Linked DNA regions of Homo sapiens: region 1 is linked to region 2. Evidence: promoter capture Hi-C in 16 types of primary human blood cells and fetal thymus (Javierre and others, 2016). All regions are on one chromosome and are shown on one strand. The core of a region is centred on a gene start or on the middle of the fragment in contact, and the rest is flanking DNA. Distances in the headings are between cores, read along the strand shown. Region 1 has its middle 10 kb from the start of CD69. Region 2 holds the start of CLEC12B (C-type lectin domain family 12 member B).

Evidence for each region. The method cuts DNA at HindIII sites, captures the fragments that hold promoters and counts their contacts. A CHiCAGO score of 5 or more calls a contact.
Region 1: a fragment that was not itself captured here is called in contact with the fragment with the promoter of CLEC12B in region 2 in 4 of 17 cell types (M0 macrophages, megakaryocytes, M1 macrophages and 1 more); the score reaches 8.9 in M0 macrophages.

The regions. Positions count from the first base shown.
Region 1 is chr12:9,749,421-9,752,121 of GRCh38, reverse strand. No RefSeq gene overlaps it. Among named protein-coding and RNA genes, the nearest start is that of CD69, 10 kb to the left of the region's middle. RefSeq lists a silencer at 575-654 and an enhancer at 1,115-1,409. The HindIII fragment of the contact is 1,330 bases long and covers 777-2,106 here.
Region 2 is chr12:10,008,996-10,011,999 of GRCh38, reverse strand. CLEC12B (C-type lectin domain family 12 member B) reads right to left here and starts at 1,373. Exons shown (of 6, transcript NM_001129998.3): 1 at 1,150-1,373. The coding sequence starts at 1,240. The HindIII fragment of the contact is 2,412 bases long and covers 1-2,150 here.

The DNA.
Region 1 (2,701 bases), core at 192-2,691, 260 kb after region 2:
GATGTAGTTTGGATGTGTGTCCCTGCCCAAATCTCATGTCGCATTGTAATCCCCTTTGTTGGAGGTGGGGCCTGGTGGGAGGTGATTACATCATGGGAGCGAATCTCTCATGAATGGTTTAGCATCATCCTCTTGATGGTCTCCTTGCACCTGAGTGAGTTCTCAGGAGATCTGGTCTTTTCAAAGTGTGCAGCACTTTCTCTCTCTCTCTCTCTCTTTCTCTCTCTCTTTCCTGCTTTCTCCATGTGACATGCCTGCTCCCACTCCACTTCACCTTCCAACATACATAAAAGCTCCCTAAGCTTCCGCGGAAGCTGAGCAGTGTCAGCATTATGCTTGTAAAAACTGCAGAACCGTAAGCCAATTAAGCCTTTTTTCTTTATAAATTACCCAGTCTCAGATATTTTTATAGCAATGCAAGAATAGCCTAATACATTTGATTACCTTCAAAATTGTTTTATAAATGTAATTTGCAATATTCTTCTCTGCTTGTTGGAAATGTATGATGTGTATGGTATCTCTAAACTATTGGCAAACGGCAAACAGAAATGTGGATTTCAGACACTGCTTAGTGAAAAATAATGACCTCTGTGCTCCTGAGTTCCCACAGCTGTGGGAAAAAAGAAACAAGCAGCCTCCTAGCGGTAATATTCTATCATTACCAACAATCTACTCCCGAGTCATCTTAGAAAACAATGTCTTGCGATTAATATTTTAGTTATAACATATTTTTATGTGCATAAATCTAATCAAATTATGAAAATTGAGAGCAAGCTTAAAAATATTTCTATATTAGTATGACACAATTTTTAAGTCATTGAATACTGACTGTATCACCTAACAATTCAATGAATTTTATCATTTTTACAAATAATTTTATTGAATCCCTATAATTATGTGAAATGAGCAGCTGATGTATTTCCCTTTCCAGAGGAAGAAGTTGAAATTATGTTGAAAAAGCGACGCAAAACACGGATAACAGAGTTATTTTTTACACATAATTTGAAGTCATTTTATTCATAAGGACAACTGTTTTCTTTAAATAGATAAAAAATATACAATTCTTAAAGGGAATAATGTTATTATTTAAAGTATGACTCTACTTGCAAGTGACCAATGACAAATATAAAAAATGGGTTTGTCTCAAGAACCCCTCCTGCCCCCGGCTAAGTCCCCTGTTACAAAAGTTGCAGTGCCATCTAGTGGTTATACGAGATTACTGCACTTCTGTTTTAAGGATCCTACAAAACATCTATGTGGAGCGTGGAGCTGCTGAGACCCAAAGCACGGGGGCCAGACCGCCCGAGTTTCATCTCTGCCACGCGCGGGCTGACTAGCTATTTTATCAGAACTCGTTCAAAATTCAGCTAAAATTAGTTAGATGTTAAATTAGTTAGTACATGAAAACAAACTTAAAACATTATCTGGCTCCCTAGTACACCATAGGCATGTATTAAATACTCATGATGATTATTAGAACTAGAAACACTATGTCTTCAAACTTCCAGTATTGGCATAAAGCCGCGTTTCTACACGACATGTCTATTTCTACGTAATATATCTTATTTGTATTTGTTTTTGGAAAGCCTTTTAAAAATTTCATTTCACAAGTTATAAGTAAGCACCTACTACTATGGTGGACACCAGAGTTAAAATACTCAGCAAATTCCGCATGGCAACTGGCCTTGTGGAATTCGTGGTCTATTTGTAAAACAAACAACAAGATGAATTGACATGGTGTGATGAATGTTATAATAGGAAAAACGTAGGGTGCTATGGAAGCATATTAAAGATATACTCCTGTATTCAAACCTTTAGCTAATTATCAAAATTTTAACTCTGTAGGCTACATTCATCTTGGATAGTTACATAAATATGTGTAAAATAAAACTATCAGTTATCCGTGTTTTGCGTTGCTTTTTCAACATAATTTCAATTTCTTCCTCTGGAAAGGGGAATACATCAGCTGCACATTTCACATAATTGTAGGGATTGGATAAAACTTTTTAAAAAGGCTAAAATGCCATTGAACTGTTAGGTGCTATAGTCAGTATTCAACTACTTAAAAATTGTATGATACTAATATAGAAATGATATTTTTAAGCTTGCTGTCAATTTTCATAATTTGATTAGATTTTGCACATGAAAATGTATTATAACTGAAATTAAAATGTAAATGATTTTTCAGGGAAAAATATTGGGAAATATATGACCAGAACGACTGCTGGTGATGGTGTAAACTGGTTTCCTTTACCCTTTGGAAAGCAGCTTGACAATACTTACTGGGGAGGGAGGGAGATTTTAAAGAAATAATCTTGGATGTGCAAGACATAACCACAAAAATGTTTATCAAAGGGATATTTCTAGTAGTGAAAAATCAGAAGCTACCTAATTGTCCAAAACCAAAGATTTAGTTAAATAAATATAATGCTCCTACATGATGAAATGCTATCCCAACATTAAAAAATAATGAAGAACATTTATGTATATGAAAGAATACTCAAACTATTATTGCTGCTAGTTTAAAATAATATATACAATAGGATTATTTCCTGTTCAATATTAAATATACAAAACATGTTTTATATTTCTATATGCTGACAGAAAGTAAAACTACTAAAGTAAACACAGTGGTTTTCCCTGAGGAGGAGGAATATAGGAAGTATTTATTTTCTTTATGTTTTTCTATAATTTTGGATCT
Region 2 (3,004 bases), core at 124-2,623:
AGCTTCATATCCCTTGATTTAGGTCCAAATAACATCTAGCGCAATGTTTTAGATACAGCATGACAGACTCTAGGTACACTGTGATATGCACCATATCCACACCTCCTTTTTCCTCACAGGTTAGAATTAGAATTAAAAAGTAAAACAAAACAAGGCAAAAATGTGTAACCACATTTATTAGACATATGCAAAGTCTATTCCCATCGGCTTTTTGTAAATATCCTTCCCTCAAATGTCATGCACCACACAAAATGTAAAGATAAATCTAGAGGGCAGGAGAAAGTAGTTCAGATGACTGACATGATTCAGGAGAACCTGGATAGTTAACATATCTGAAAATAAGAGATGTGGTCTTATATATTAAATCAGAGTCTTGACCATGGAGACTGCTATTTTTCCAATTAGGCATAAGAGAATGAGCTGAAGACCAGCACTGAGACTGGGCTTCCCCACATAGCAGTTGTGTGAGCTTGCTTAAATTATCTAATTTCTCTCACCCTCAGTTTTTTCATCTATGTAATGGAGAAAATACTAATATTCGAATATTATTGTGGATTTTCATTACAATTATATCTGTATATAATGTACATAAAATACTACCCAGATACTATTATTACTGGTTCAACATTACAAATTATGCTCGGATTTCAACTACCCTAAAATTTGAAAAAATACTGACAAAAGAAAAATTAGCTCTGATCTATTTCTAATCCACTCACTCATCTTCCAGTTTTCTCTTAAGTAACTTACATCATCTAAAAGAAAAACGTCCTCTACCTTCTCTATTTTAGAAGCCTCCAATCTGGTTTCTGAAAGAATATCCTCCTGGCATCTCTAACAAGGTATAAATATCAAGGATTATATTCATAAGAAGAAATCTCTAATTCCCCAAGCTCAATTTCTGGCATGTGCAGTCAGAATTTCTCTGACTGTGTGATATCACACAACTTTAAAGAGGTTCTGAAAGCCACATATTTTCACTTCAACCTTGGGAACACTCACTTTTCTAATACATTCCACAACTATTTGTCCCCATTTTGGAGATTTCACAGCACATGTCTTTAACGCCAGTATTAAAGCTGGCACCTCAAAGCATTTAACACCTGTCCACTCCCCCAAGGACACAGCTGGTCTTCTCTGAACTCCTACCTCTTTTTCTTAGGTTATTTCCATCTCGGTTATTCCTTGCTCCAGCAGAATCCTGAAATGTGAGTGTCGCGTAGGTCACTTCTTCAGACATTGTAGAAGAAAACGCTACTTTAAATTATCTAATTAATGTTTCAATATCTTGAGGCCTGGGAACAGCATGTGTTTTTCAAGGCTGGGAGCTTTGATGTAGTCACTCAGCTGACCCAGACACACTCTACTGCCCCTCTGTAAGAGAAGAATGACAATTTGTTTCTCTACAGAGAAAGTGAGAAAAGCCAAATATTCTCCTTAGAGATATTCTCATTAGAATGTTACAGATCTCAAACTGTCTGCTCTGTCAGAACTGTTTCTTGCTGTGCAGCAAAGAAGGGGTGCTTGAGGCAGAGCAGGAGGAACATGAGGGAATTCCCATGATCCTCGGGGTAGAGGATGCTCTGAATGTTTCAGAAAAGAGTCAGGTTGTCTTCTTTACATCTATCTAAGGCTAGCTAATCTGCCTGGAGACATTGGTTCTAGTTTATTCTCAGCCACATTAGATATTAAGCAGAGAGACACACATTAAGACAGAAAGAGCTGTGCCACACACCTGGCTGCTATTATAGAAAATTCAAGCGTGTGTGTGTGTGTGTGTGTGTGTGTGTGTGTGTGTGAGAGAGAGACAGAGAGAGACAGAGAGAGAGAGACAGAGAGAGAGAGACATGGTGTTGGTAATGGAGCATGGAGAAGAAACTGATAGCTACTTAGCTACTTAACGTGAGTATGAATGGGAGTGCCCTCTTCTGGCATGGTTGGGAAAGTTCCTAACAGAACAACAACCATGGGATAATCCTGCAGACAGCAAGGAATACACAGGACAAGATTTTAAAAAGATAACTACCGGAAGTTAATACATCTGTGGTAATTTGTTACAGCAGCAATATGTAGTTAATACAGAACCCAGGAAAATATGGGGGGGGAGCGCTATATATGAGGGACGAAATTAAGGAATCTCCTCTAAAGCTTTCCTTTGGGGAGAGGCAGAATATTAGATAACTGTACTTAGGGGAAGGATTGGGTATGAGTTTTGTGGTTTCAGATGAGTGGGGAGTGATCTAAAACTTCCAAGGTTCATATCTGTGTGGAGATTATCTTAGTCAAAGGTGTCCAGCGTGAGGTGCACTCACCCCACAGCTGTGAAGCAGATGCAGAAAGGCAATGTAAAAACTTTCTCTTTAGGAACGCTGTGCATGATCTCTAAACACCTAAATATACATATGTTACTTGTTCATGTTTTTTGTTTTTTTTTTTTTCAAATTGATGAAATAATCAAAAAAATGTTTGGAGGCTCTAAGTCATATATCAATAAAACTCCACTATCAAAAATATTGAAACAAATAATAAATCTATGCTTATGTTTACTATTCTAGTTGAATTCAGAAAAGGCAGAGACCATTGACATGAGGACCAGTTTAAATAGATGATTACAAAAATAAGAAATTAAGAATGGTTTTCTATCTCTGTTCTGGTCCGTGTCCGGAGTTGGTTCCTGCCGGTGGGTTCCTGGTCTCGCTGACTTCAAAAATGAAGCCGCGGACCTTTGCGGTGAGGGTTACACCTCTTAAAGATGGCACGGACCCAAAGACTGAGTGGTAGCAAGGTTTATTGTGAAGAGCAGGATGACAAACCTTCCACAGCATGGAAGGGGTCCCAAGCGGGTTGCTGCTGCTGGCTGGGGTGGCTAGCTTTTATTTCCTTACTGTCCCCTCCATGTTCCGTTTCTGTCGTATCAGACTGACCTTTTTTCAATCCTCACCGCAATTGGCTACTTTTAGAATCCTGCTGATTGGTGCGTTTTACAGAGCGCTGATCGGTGCGT